2 separate regions of the Homo sapiens genome follow, and region 2 is linked to region 1. The links are contacts of gene promoters, found by promoter capture Hi-C in blood cells and fetal thymus (Javierre and others, 2016). All regions are on one chromosome and are shown on one strand. The core of a region is centred on a gene start or on the middle of the fragment in contact, and the rest is flanking DNA. Distances in the headings are between cores, read along the strand shown. Region 1 holds the start of SCGB1D4 (secretoglobin family 1D member 4). Region 2 holds the start of BEST1 (bestrophin 1).

Region 1 (7,265 bases), core at 3,195-5,694:
CACAATAAAAAATGATAAAGGGGATATAAGCACTGATCCCACAGAACTTCAAACTACCATTAGAGAATACTATAAACACCTCTATGCAAATAAACTAGAAAACCTAGAAGAAATGGATAAATTCCTGGACACATACACCTTCCCAAGATGAAAGGAAGAAGTTGAATCCCTGAATAGACCAATAACAAGTTCTGAAATTGAGGCAATAATTAATAGCCTACCAACCAAAAAAGTCCAGGAATGGACAGATTCACAGCCGAATTCTACCAGAGGTCCAAAGAGGAGCTGGTGCCATTCCTTCTGAAACTATTCCAAACAATAGAAAAAGAGGGAATCCTCTCTAACCCGTATTATGAGGCCAATATCATCCCGATGCCAAAACCTGGCAGAGACACAACAAAAAAAGAAAATTTCAGGCTAATCTCCCGGATGAACATCGATGAGAAAATCCTCAATAAAATACTGGCAAATTGAATCCAGCAGCACATAAAAAAAGCTATCCACCACGATCAAGTCAGCTTCATCCCTGGGATGAAAGGCGGGTTGAACATATGCAAATCAATAAATATAATCCATCACATAAACAGAACCAATGACAAAAACCACATGATAATCTCAATAGATGCAGAAAAGGCCTTTGATAAAATTCAACAGCCCTTCATGCTAAAAACTCTCAATAAACTAGGTATTGATGGAACATATCTCAAAATAATAAGAGCTATTTATGACAAGCCCACAGCCAATATCATATGAATGGGCAAAAGCTGGAAGCATTCCCTTTGAAAACTGGCACAAGACAAGGATGCCCTCTCTCACCACTCCTATTCAACACAGTATTGGAAGTTCTGGCCAGGGCAATCAGGCAAGAGAAAGAAATAAAGGGTATTCAAATAGGAAAAGAGGAAATCCAATTGTCTCTGTTTGCAGATGACATGATTGTATATTTAGAAAACACCATCAACTGACAAAGAAGTGTATTTATCTCTGTGGTTTACAATAACTTTACCCTTCACCTTTTATTTTTGGTGAAAAACCTGGTTAGTAAGCAATTTTAATTATGTTCCAGCTGTGGATCCTAGGACCCAGACAGAAGTGCAGATAAAGTCTGACTTTTCAGCTTCTAGCTCCATGAGTCCCAGGCCTTACCTATGTGTAAAGCAGGCAGTATATGACCTTGCAACATTTAGCAAACCTGGTATCTAAATTATATGATTTAGACAACCTATTTGCATTTTGATGACACTTGCCTTTTACTAATAATCCTTCAGACTATTTTTATTTCTTCAAGTCATGTGAACTAAAACATTTGATTGAAGCACTTATTTTTCTTTAAGCCAATCAATCAGAGCTCTTTTTATAGACATCACACACAGCACATATATAGCAACACTAAGAAACAGAAGATTCAGCACTTGTAAGATTTTTCACTTGGTAGTCTCTTAATTGGATTACTGGCTTTAGGGTGGAGCCCTTGAAGGAACAGGGCTATGTAGCATACCTAATAAACAGACGCAGCTGAAGGCAAAGGCAGATCCCTAAAATTAAGGGTGCCATTTTATACCTGATCTTGGGTCCCTAAAAGGAGGGAGATACTATGGGAGAAGACAGTGTAGTGGTTCTATCACGTATTTCACTGCAAGGGAACCCAAAGCCAATTGGCTTATTCTGTAATGAGCCCATTCCCCATGGGAGTCTCGTCTCTTAGTTGGGGGTGAGGATGTTGCCATATCTTTCAGGTGGCCAAGAGCACGCTTCTTTGATTATAACTACTATTAGCCATCCCTAACATTGAATTTTCTATCTAGTTATTACACACCGAAGCTCTCTCATAGTGTGAAGTAATTTGACACCCCCAAAACTCAAAATGGTAGATTACACAATACATAACAGAACAGAGCCTTTGATTTTGAGAAGTAACTGCTTTTAATTTTGGGGGTTTCATGAGGAAAACAGTTTTTTTTTTTTCCCCAAAATGGGGTCTGTGGTGCCTCCTCTGTTTTTCCCAAGGAGTCCCATGCTACCAGAAGTTATCTTAGGGCTTCTCATGCTTGCATTAAGAATGGTAAGATGAAAAATGGAGAAAAATAATTCAGTTGATTGAAAAGAAAAGAGCCTTTTTCCCAAAAAACAAGATTCAACAAGAGAAAAGCATAAAGACCTTTTCAATATACCTATAACTTGAACATATCCACTTTTAATTAAGCTGAGCACTTTTAAAGAAAATCCTTTTAAATTCCTTGTTACTTGAGATTGCTGCAAATGAGAGGTGCATGGTTCCAGCAGAGTCTATGAAGGGGAGTATTGAACAAGTCATCGGGGTCAGGCAACGATGTCCATGGATGGAAAGAATAAACTAAAATCTTGAGTCAATTGTGTAAAAAGGAGGGAGCCATAAAAAGCATCAATGATGAAAACAAAAAAACCCTGCATAGGTGTTAATCGTGGTAGGACTAATAAAAGTATACGCAAACAATCCTCTGTCAGAGATACACATGCTCCCCAATGGACTGTACAGATGACAAGGTGAATGTCAAGCCTGAGTGAGGATAAACTCTCATCCACAAAAAGGGTGGATGCTTCACAGACCTGTCTACTGCAAAAGAGGCCTCAGTCCTGAAGCCCATATTCATGGGTTTGCAGCCTCCAAGACCATGAGCTGGGTTTCCTTTTCCATTTATGTCAAAGAGAAATGGTGTATCTAGGTGTCCGTGTAGTTCTGCAAGTAGGTGATTTAGTGGATTTTGGCTGTGCTCTAAACTAGGAACTACTGGCAAACCATGACATATATGACAAATGGGACAAGATAATGGCAGTTTACATTGAGAACTACTATGTACCAGAACTTGGTATATTTTAAACACACACACACCCATGAACACACTCATTTGATCATCTATCAACCCAATGATGTAGGCACCATTAGTAGCCTACTTTGACAAATGAGAAAACTGGGGTTACATAAACTGAATAATTTTCCTAAGGTCCAGGAGCCCATAAATGAGGATCTGAACCCTCATAGCTGTAAACCTCACCACCAACCCTCCCCCTCCTTGGTGGCAGCAGGGCTGATTCAGGGACTCCGTCGTCATCCTGTGTGATGAAAGTGAGATCCACTGTTGCCCTCAGCTTGGACTCAACTAAATCTGTCAATGTGTCTTTGATGACAAAACCCGTAAGGTCCCCTTCCTTCTTAAAGGTTTTCCTGGCTGGATCTCAGCCCTGCTGTCTGTGAGAAACACCAGAGCAGTTTAAACAGTACAGAAAGGAGGGATTCACCCCAATGCTACTGAATCAAAATCGCCAGAGAGAGAAGCCTGTGGGGTCAGTATGTTTTAAAAGCTCCAAGTGATTTGACTACATAGCTGAGAATGGAAAGCTATGGCCTGGGCTGTGACTCCTCTCAAATGTAAGTTTATTTAAGAGAAAAATTTCTGGTGATTAAACTCACACCACATGAAGGCACGGCAATGGGAGGGAAGGCGGGTGTGTATTGCTTTGTCTGGGGGCTTCCTTCACTTTCCCTTAAAAATGGGATTGGCCCAGGCAGCACAGATAGGTTTGAAGTGGAAAACTTGAGCCTAGGGGTTAGGGGGAAGTGACCACCCACCCTGTTCCTCTGTCTCTTCCCTTCTATTATCTTCCCAGCCTAGAGCCCCACTGATGTATGATTGGCTCTGAACACTCCAAAAGCTCTTGAGAAAAAGAGTTAGGTTATTTAATCTTCAGATCAGCCCTAAGATAAGACGTGGGTGGCTACACATCACAGAAAGCTTGCTTTTTATAGATAGAAAATGTGAATCTTGGCCATATATATAACTGCACGTATAAACAAGATTCAGGTTTGGGAGTGAGGCAGGCTAGAGAACAGGTGCAGCAGATGTTTTTCCTCAGCATATCTTCTACAGGTGGGATGTATTCAACTATGTTTTCAGTACCTATGCAGTGAACATGGTGGTGATGGAAGGGGCTGAGGGGAAGGATTAGACTTTCCCAATGTGCAACTGAAACAAGCCTGCTTGTTGTCAGACATGCAGGGGGATCAAAGCAGGGTCTCCTTATGTCCCTGCTCTCCCATAAAGAGAACACAGCCTTCCAGCTTCCTGTGCCTTGTGAAGCCATAATTCACCTGTGCCCCTGCACTGCTACAAAGATAAAAAGAACTAATCAGCAAAAGCTCATAAGGAAATTGAGGATCCCAGGAACATTTCCAGATGTACCTGAACACTCACCTGGAGCACAGAGCAGAGTTCTCACAAGGCTGCTGTCTTGTGCTCCGCCCCACTCAGATGCAGAGATTCCTAAGGAGGTGACATTGATGGACGGCAGCAGCCCTGGCTTGGAAGGGCGGGCTGGGAGCCAGGCCTCATGACCTACCAGGTGCCCCGGTAGGTAGGACCAGCCAGGCTCCCTAGGTACAAATAGCCCTGGCCTCCATGACTACACAGGCTCCTGGAGTCGAATCCAAATCACTCATTGTGAAAGCTGAGCTCACAGCCGAATAAGCCACCATGAGGCTGTCAGTGTGTCTCCTGATGGTCTCGCTGGCCCTTTGCTGCTACCAGGGTGAGTACATCAGTCATGAGTCCAGCACCAGCCCCTGGGATGCACCCTCTTCTGAGCACAAGATCACCTATTTGTGCTTTGGGTTGGGGTCTGCACAAAACCAAACAAAATTCCAAACCCTTTTCTGTGCTTGTTGAATAAGATTCATAAAGGTTAGAGCTATTTCTTCTTTCTTCTTCCTTTTTTTTTTTTTTTTTTTGAGAAGTTTTGCTCTTGTTGCCCAGGCTGGAGTGCAGTGGCATGATCTTGGCTCACTGCAACCTCTGCCTCCGGGGTTCAAGTGATTCTCCTGCCTCAGCCTTCCTGAGCAGCTGGGATTACAGGCATGGGCCACCACAGCTGGCTAATTTTGTATTTTTAGTAGAGATGGGGTTTCTCCATGTTGGTCAGGCTGGTCTCGAACTCCCGACCTCAGATGATCTGCCCGCCTCGGCCTCCTAAAGTGCTGGGATAACAGGCATGAGCTACTGCGCCTGGCTGCTTAGAGCTATTTCTTCTAATCCCCAGTATCTAAGAAGTTTTATAGAAAAATCAGTTCAGGCAAATGTTAGGAATTCTTCTGCCTGAGCTTCACTTCTGAATGGGATCTGTGTCAGATGATGTAATGTGAGGTCTGGGGTGAACCTGGGCTTCGACACTTCCCACCCCTTGATCTTGGGCACAATGCTCACCCTCCTTGAGCCTCCTCTTATCACTGGTGGTTAAAGCTTCTGCCAGGAGTGGCTATGAGAATGAAGTAAGGTTATGGTTGTCAAGAGTCAAGCTGTGGGCCAGGCATGGTGTCTCATTCCTGTAATCTTAGCACTTTGGGAGGCCACAGTGGGCAGATCACTTGAGCTCAGGAGTTCAGCACCAGCCTGGGCAACATGGCGAAACCCCATCTCTACAAAAAAAAAAAACAAAACAAAACACACACACACACACACACACACACACACACACACAAAAGCGGGCATGGTGGCAGGCACTGGTAGTCTCAGCTACTTTGGGGGCTGAGGGAGGATCGCTTGAGCCCAAGACATTCAGGCTGCAGTGAGCCGAGATTGTGCCACTGCATTCCAGTCTGGGTGAACCTATCTCAAAAAAAAGAAAAAGAAGTCTAGCTGAGGATATGAAGCTCTTCCCTTTGTTGTGTGACCCGGAGAAAGTCACACCTGGAGTTTCTGGTATTGTCATCAGCACAATAATGGTATAGAAACATAGAACCCAGGGGATCCTGTCTGGTGTAACCTCAGGGAGCCATGAGAGAAAAATCGACTTTCCTAACATCAACAATATTTTTATTTTTGTGCTGCAGCCCATGCTCTTGTCTGCCCAGCTGTTGCTTCTGAGATCACAGTCTTCTTATTCTTAAGTGACGCTGCGGTAAACCTCCAAGTTGCCAAACTTAATCCACCTCCAGAAGCTCTTGCAGCCAAGTTGGAAGTGAAGCACTGCACCGATCAGATATCTTTTAAGAAACGACTCTCATTGAAAAAGTCCTGGTAATTTCTTTCTCCTTTATGCAGAGGCAGAATTCAACTCAGCTGCACACAGCCTCCTGCATGTTTCTTGTCAGGTCACCTGCCTGGATGCTGTGTCCCCAGAGTGTGCTGAGGACATGGGGAGTGAGCTAGGGCCAAGGCAGGGATGGTGAAGGGCCAAGCACGGCCGCCTCCCTGCTGGGATCTTTCCTGAGGTCAACCTACCCTCACGCAGTGGACACGGTCACTATGGGATGTCCCAGGGAGTGTGGGAGATTTGAACAGGGAGAGGAGGCTTGAGGGGACCTAGAGCTGGGCCTCCCACAGACAGGGTGCTGGTGAACTGGGCTCCTGTGCAGCTTCTGCAGAGCCAGGAGCCCCTTGCAGCTCCTCAGGGCCCACTATCCACTCCTCATCCATGACACTCTCCTGACCACAGCCAGTGGGCCAAGACTTTTTCGCTGCTCTACCTACTGCAACGCCACACAAGTGGGATGTTCTCACTATGTCTTTCTCAAGAAATCAGAGATTCCAGGGCCCTCTCAGCCTGGCTGCCTCTGGATTGTTGTCCTGAGGTTTGGCTGCAAATACCCATAGAAGCTGCAGGGTCAGGGCTGATAAGACCCCTGGCCGTTAGGCAGAATTCTCCCATGGGAAGACTGGAGTCTCCTGGAAGGTGTGTTTCCCAGAAGCCCTCCCTGCCCTGCCTGGCTTCAGAGCCCTGGGTCCCCCATTACAGGGATCAGGAGACTCCACAGACCTGGGACAGCCCAGACAACAACCTCTTGCTGCACTGTCAACCCCTCCCCTCCTCCTCCATGAAAACCCTGGGCCTAACTCCTGGGTCTTCCCAGGTCTATTGGTCTGGTGGGGAAAGGCTGCTTTCTCACCAGAATGGGTGTTGTAAGGCCACCAGGTCTAGGCCTCAGTTTCCCAAACTGAATTCTTGCCTCTGCCTTTCCAATTGCCATTGGGGCAAAATCCCATTGGCCTCTTTGATGTTAGCCTATCATCACCAGCAGCAGCATGACTGACCTCACCTTTCTTTCTTTCTTTCTTTTTTTTGATTTCAGGTGGAAATAGTGAAAAAATGTGGTGTGTGACATGTAAAAATGCTCAACCTGGTTTCCAAAGTCTTTCAACGACACCCTGATCTTCACTAAAAATTGTAAAGGTTTCAACACGTTGCTTTAATAAATCACTTGCCCTGCACATCTCCACTGGTCTTGTTATGATCCT
Region 2 (6,967 bases), core at 62-2,561, 350 kb after region 1:
GAGGTGGATGAAGTGGTCTCCAAGGCCCTGCCAGTTCTGACTGCCTTTTGGAAGTAGAAACGCAAGAAAGTGAGCCCAGAGGCTGCCCTTTGCTTTGGCAGGGAAGACGTAGATAGGCGTGTGCATTGCCATGTGCCTTTAACTTTCTATAATCACTGGGCGCAGTGGCTCATGCCTATAATCCCAGCACTTTGGGAAGTCGAGGCAGGTGGATCACCTAAGGTCAGGAGTTCGAGACCAGCCTGGCCAACATGGTGAAACCCTGTCTCTACTAAAAATACAAAAAAATTATCCAGGCGTGGTGCGGGTGCCTGTAATCCCAGCTACTCAGGAGGCTGAGGCAGGAGAATCGCTTGAACCCAGGAGGTGGAGGTTGCAGTGAGCTGAGATCACGCCATTGCACTCCAGCCTGGGTAAGAAGAGCAAAACTCTGTCTAAAAATAAATAAATAAATAAATAAATAATACAATGACAAAGGCAGTAACAGCAGCAATGTCTACACACTAAGCTCAGGTCCTCTGGGCTAGGCAGTGTTCTCAGCCCATCTTGTTCGTTAGCTCCCAAGCTCTCTCAACCACCCTAGTGTGAGAAGTATGGAAGGGACCAGGCAGCCCTGTCCACCACCATATTCCCATTCCCATAATGGAACCTAGCTGGTAGAGATGCTCAAATGATGTTTACTGAATGGTGGCTCCAGGGCCTTTCCACCTGCTGATCTTCCTGCCTGGAGGAAGCTCTTCCTGAGATACCTGCATGGTTCCTTCCCACTCCAGGTTCCCTTTAGAAAGGATGTTCCCAACCATCCAACCTGGAAATAGAGCCCCACTGCCACCGGTGCTCTGTGTCTCCTCACCTTGCTTGATATTTCTAGAGAGCACTTATCACTACTTGAAATTATACAGGATATCTGCCTGTTTCCTGCCTGTTTCCTCCTCAGAATGGAAGCTCCTCTTGTGTTCTCGTAGAAGGCGCTCAATAAAAATTTACTGAAGCAGTGATTGATGCCCCCTCCATTCTTTCCCTGTGTGTTTTGCTGCAGCCACACTGGCTGGCTGTGCCTGATGCACACCAAGCTCATTCCCACCTCAGGGCATTTGCACAGACACACAGGTGCCCACACACCTGCGCATGTGCTGCCTGTGTGTGCATATCCCACACAAATACGCAAGATGGCCATCCAACCCTGAAGGCCTCAAAGCCCCAGCCCAGTCCACCTGGGGCACCTTGTACTCACAGGTGGGGTTCCAGGTGGGTCCGATGATCCCACAGAAGGTCTGGCGACTAGGCTGGTGGGACTCCCTGGGACTCTGTGGCCAGTGCCCCTGCCCACTCTTAGAGGCTGGCACTGCCCACGTGAGTGCTGAGCCGCCGTCACTTGACTCCCTAAGCCAGGACCTCCACAAAGGAGTCCTTGTCTTAGTCCCTTCTTGTAATCTGCTCAGAAGCAACGGCTAGCACAGCCTGGCCATGGCCCCTCTAATTTCTTCTTGGAGGGTGTTGGGCTGAGACCAGGGCTGGAATTTAGGGCAACACCCCCTCTACCATGGCCCTAAAATCCAGAGGCTAAAGGATCTGCTCCACCAGTGTTCTGACCCCTGAGGCCTTGCAGAGAGAGTTGGGGGTTAGGGGGCTGTGCTGAGCTTCAACTTCTGTGCCAGGAACTCTCCAGGAAGGAGGAGCCTCTGACTAGGCCCTGGGGTCTTTGACAGCCCTGTGGGCTATGGAAAGAATGAATACCGGGCTGCAGTCAACAGTCCTGGTTTCTGGTCCCAGCCTTGCCACCTGTGTGTGGTGACCCCGGGTAGGTTTCAGCTCCTCTCTCAGCCTCAGTGCCCTTATCTGAAAAGGATGGTGTTGCTTGGGAATTTCATCACCCTAGTAAAATGACAGAATTCTGCATATGCTGACGAGGAGCTCTGATTGGCTGCTGGTGACATCATACGTTATTCTGGCTGTGATTGGCTGGCAGGGCCCATCAGTAAGTTGCTTCAGAGAGATGGAAGGAGAAGCCTGCCGGGGCTGGTGGAGGGGGGTGAGTCTGGTGGGGGTTGACAGAACAGCCCTGGAGTTTATGCTGCTGGCTTCCAGCCAGCCAGTGCAATATGGGAATAAATGCCCAGATCCCCACGGGCAGCTGGTGAAAATCTCAGCATGTGATTCAATAAATTTTAATACATCAATCCATACTCAAGGGCTCTCCTAAGCTGTTGGAAGTGGTGGGTGTCTACCTACACACTCCTCTTGTATTGTTCAATGAAGAGAGCAGAGCTCTAGGCAGCAGTGGTTCTTGGTCTTTAGAGGCCGTAAGAATCGCCCAAATGTTTATTAAACGGGCAGTTTTCTGGATCTTTCTCCAGAGTCTGAGTCTGTGGCCTTAGGGATGTTGCATTTTAATCAAGCACTGCAGGGGATTATGAGATGTGTGGTTTTGGGACTAAACTTCCAGAAGCCCTGATTTTATAATATGACCTTGTGTCTTAAACCCACTCTCATCCTCCCTTTCCTGTCACCCTCTCTCTCTGAAATGTACTAAGCGTTAACTATGCTGAGATTGCAGGTGATTTTTCTACACACCACTTTTTTTTTCACTTTAAGTTCTGGGATACGTGTGCAGAATGTACAGGTTTGTTACATAGGTATACATGATGTGCAGGTTTGTTACATAGGTATACGTGTGCCATGGTGGTTTGCTGCACCTGTCAACCCATCATCTAGGTTTTAAGCCTTGCGTGCATTAGGTATTTGTCCTAATGCTCTCCCTCCCCTTGTCCCCCACCCCCACACACCATTTTTGCCTTTATATAATTATCTGCCTAGAAAAAAAAACACTATTTCGCAATGACCTTGAATACTTTTCTAATCATGGCAAACAATAAAGCTGTTGTTATTATAAGACTCTCTTTAGAGGCAGCCTTGTAGGAGTATTTACTGCCTCCCCGCTGCCCCATCGCTGTCCTCAACTGATATGGGGAAAGAAGCAGGTTCACTTCAGCCTCAGTCTCCTCATATGCAAAATGGGACAACGATGCCTACCTTGGCAGCCGAATGAGAATGATGGATGGGACATGTGTCCGTCAACTCTCCAAACCACTGGTGCCTGTGCCTGACCCCTACGAATTCTGATTTGATTGGTCTGGATGGACCCCAGGTGTTGGGATTGTTCAAGTTCTCCAGGTGATTCTGATTTTATGGCCTGTGCTGAGTCATTGCTTAATGGATTATTTCCCTATCCTGTATTCCCTTCCCAACCAACACATCCTGAAACTCAAGAGCTTTCCATTTAGAAGATGATAAATATATATTATATATATTTATATATTAACATATGTAAATATGTATTAATATGTCTATAATATTACAAATATATTTGTATGTACACATATATTTATACATATAAATATATAAGTAAATATATAACTATATTTTTGAGACAAGGTCACCCAGGCTGGAGTGCAATGGGTGTGATTTTGGCTCATTGCAACCTCCACTTCCCAGGCTCAAGCAATCCTCCCATCTCAGCCTCCCAAGTCGCTGGGACTACAGACGCACACCACCACACCCAGCTATTTTTTTTTTTTTTATAGAGATAGGGTCTCACTACATTACCCAGGCTGGTATTGAGCTCTAAGTTCAAGCAGTCCTCCCACCTAGGCCTCCCAAAGTGGTGGGATTACAGGAGTGAGCCGCCACACTCGGCCAATAAGTATGTTTTAACTAAAGTTAACACACATGCCTGGCACCATGCCTGGAACATTGATGCTCATTCTGTACTCTCTGAAGGAATAAATGAAAATCCTGCCTTTGTGGAGACAAGTTCTTGCCTTCCCTGTGGTGGCCACTAGAGAGCGTGCTTGACTAGCTGGCTCTGGCTGGGGAAGCCTGGTTCACTGGTCAGGATCAGTGCAGACCACGGAGCTGGCACTGCTTCATCTCCCTGACCCCGACCAGCAGCCATAGAGCCATGAGAGGGAGTTGGAGACACTAGAGTCCCTCCTCCCTGTTCCCTGAACCGCAGGCTCCTTGGCAATATCCCAGGAGTACCACCAGGACCATAGACAGTGCATGGCCAGTCTCCCTTCCCCTCCCAGAGGCCCCAGCATGTCCCCAGAGACATCCCATGAGCAGCTGCTCCTGGCCCTGCCCCAGAGCTGAGACAGGCACACCCTGGCACAAGTCATGGTCTCTCCTACTGGGTCTCAGCTATGAAAATGTCCCCAGTTAGCCAGGCACGGCTCAGGCACACAGCAAAGTCATGAGTGCTGATTGACCCAAGCCATGCCTGGAACAAGAGTCCCAGGATTGACCCCTGCAGAGATGGCACCCAACCCAGTCAAGGTCGCCCTCTTCTGCTTTCCGTTCCGCAAAGAAAATATTCGCCAAACCATTTCTCCTTCCAGAACTGAGCCTAATCTGATTCCTGCCTGTACGTATTCATAGTCAAAAAATTTGGAAACACTTAAATAACAACTCTAACACAGAATGGCAAGGCCTAAGATCTGTGCCAAGTGCACAGAGGTCAGGGAAATTTTTACAGACAATGGGGCATTTCGGTTGGGTCTTGAAGCATGAGTAGGAGTTCATGGAGCTGAGAAGAATGGAAGAGCATTACACATCAGGGGAACAACCTACGGAAAGTCATAGAGCTATTCCTGAAGGATGATTCAGTATCGCATGTTTATCCACATTTTACAAAGGAGGACACTGAAGCTCAAGGCCTGCCTTGTCCAAGGTCACACAGCTATAAATGGCTTGAGACTAGGATCTAGGTCTTTTGATTTTGGATCCTGAGCCCTTTCCCACTATCAGCTCTACAGTAAAGGTCAGTTTCTGAGAGGTAGAGTCTTACCTGCTAGGGTAGTGGTCTCTCTTGGGGTTGAAGGGAGGTCCAAAGGATGGGGCCTGCATGAAAGATACTTTTTTTTTTTTTTTGAGACGGAGTCTCGCTTTGTTACCCAGGCTGGAGTGCAGTGGCATGATCTTGGCTCACTGCAACATCTGCCTCCTGGGTTCAAGTGATTTCCGGCTAAGTATTGTATTTTTAGTAGAGATGGGGTTTCACCATGTTGGCCAGGTTGGTCTTGAACTCCTGACCTCAAGTAATTCACCCGCCTCGGCCTCCCAAAGTGCTAGGATTGCAGGCATGAGCCACTGTGCCTGGCCGCATGGAAGAAACTTTGACTGCAGCAGATTCCAAGCTCTCGAGCTCCCCAGCAGAGAGCCATCTCTTGGGGCAGCAGGGCAGAGCTGGGGAGATGCGCGGGGGTGCCAGACACAGAATGCTATGGCCTTCTCATCTAGAATTACCATAGCAACAGGAGCATCACAGAGGGCCTGCCTCGGTGCCCTTCTAGGCCCTGCCTCAGCTGGGCAGGAAGAAGGAGACCCAGCTTGGCTGGGGGCAGTAGGCAGGGGGCCCCGGGGTAAGTCAGCCAGGCCTGGATGCTGCCTCCAGGCTTTATGTGGGACACCTGCCAGCCCACACCCCTCTCTTGGGCCAGTCACAGAACAAATAGGGCAGAGGCCAAGAAAGAAAAGGAGGGGGCTTGGCATAGCTGGACAGGGGTGCTGGGGGACACTGCCAGTCCAGGGCCCGGAAGCCAGACAGACAACAGCACCTCCACCCTGAGCTCAGGCAGCCCTGATCCCTGAAGGACGGAGTAAACTCAACATTCAAAGAGATAGAAACATAAGCCCTGGGCACCACAGAAAGACGACAGAAACCAGGAGAGGCTGGGATACACCTAGGTCCAACTTCATCAAACCCAGTCCTGCCCATGACAACGGAATAGCATGGAATAGACCAGAGCTGGACCAACTAGAGACACAAGGCAAGAGGATCCACTGTGCTGCGAGGTCCCCCATGGACTCTGCCAGGCTGCAGTCGGCCAGGTGAGGCACTGACCACTATCCACCTTCCACCCACCCCCACCCCTCCAGCTCAGAACTGGGGCTCGTGGCAGGTGGGTAGCGGAAAGGACATCATGGGTCAGGCTTCTCCTAGACAACTGTGCAGGGCCTGGATGCTGTCAAAGGTTCACACCCAGTGAGTAGCCTCAGTGTCTTCAGCTCAAATGGGCATGTTGAGTTTGACGTGCTGTGAAAGAATGGTAAGTTTCTAGTCCAGCTGCTCATTTTGCAGACAAAGAAACTGAGGCACAGAGAAGGAAAATGACTTGCCTGAAGTCACAGTAGGCCGCCTGTCTAGGTGAGTGCAGCAACTCCCCGCTGCCCCAGGATGCTCCTGCGGTTCGCTTCCACGGCGAGCACTGAATGCCGACCGACCGTGTTTAGCGCTGCGGTGGCCACTGTGAGAGGGAAAGAATAGTAGAAACAATCAGTTCTCCCCATCTTGACCACTTACCAGGTGTCAGGCAGTGCACTAAGCGCTCTTTAGAAATGTCATCTACTCATCAAAACAACCCCTGGGGAAGAGGAAGGGTCATCCATCTGTCAGGTGGATGGATGTTGGAGAGGACGGCACAAGGGTAGGCTAGATGAGGAGTAAGCCACATTGGCCCCTATCTGTCAGGTCAATGGGCTGACGGCAGGCTGCCTTAGCTGCCTTTCCCTGCCTCAGATGCAGACTGGCTGGGCTTCCACAGCTACAGCCTTCTCCACCCATGCTAGGGCTACCAGACTTAGCCAATAAAACTACAGGCCAGGCCAGGTGTGGTGGCTCCTACCTGTAATCCCAGCACTTTGGGAGGCTGAGGCGGGTGAATCACGGGAGGTCAGGAATTCAAGACCAGCCTGGCCAACATGGCAAAATCCCGTCTCTACTAAAAATACAAAGATAAGTAGCCAGGCATGGTGGCGCATGCCTGTAATCCCAGCTACTCGGGGAGGCTGAGGCAGGAGAATCACTTGAACCCGGGAGACAGAGGTTGCAGTGAGCCAAGATTGCACCATTGTACTCCAGCCTGGTTGACAAGAGCGAAACTCCGTGTCCAAAACAAAAACAAACATT

The links. The method cuts DNA at HindIII sites, captures the fragments that hold promoters and counts their contacts. A CHiCAGO score of 5 or more calls a contact.
Region 2: a contact is called between the fragment with the promoter of BEST1 here and the fragment with the promoter of SCGB1D4 in region 1, in 12 of 17 cell types (activated CD4 T cells, erythroblasts, endothelial precursors and 9 more). The highest score is 9.1, in activated CD4 T cells.

The regions. Positions count from the first base shown.
Region 1 is chr11:62,296,254-62,303,518 of GRCh38, reverse strand. SCGB1D4 (secretoglobin family 1D member 4) reads left to right here and starts at 4,444. Exons shown (of 3, transcript NM_206998.2): 1 at 4,444-4,563; 2 at 5,861-6,047; 3 at 7,100-7,238. The coding sequence starts at 4,509. The coding sequence ends at 7,109. The HindIII fragment of the contact is 1,500 bases long and covers 3,773-5,272 here.
Region 2 is chr11:61,944,695-61,951,661 of GRCh38, reverse strand. It overlaps BEST1 (bestrophin 1), which reads right to left and starts at 1,311. Exons shown (of 11, transcript NM_004183.4): 1 at 1,235-1,311. It also overlaps a transcript of RAB3IL1 not described here. RefSeq lists a silencer at 5,450-5,613. The HindIII fragment of the contact is 17,311 bases long and covers 1-6,967 here.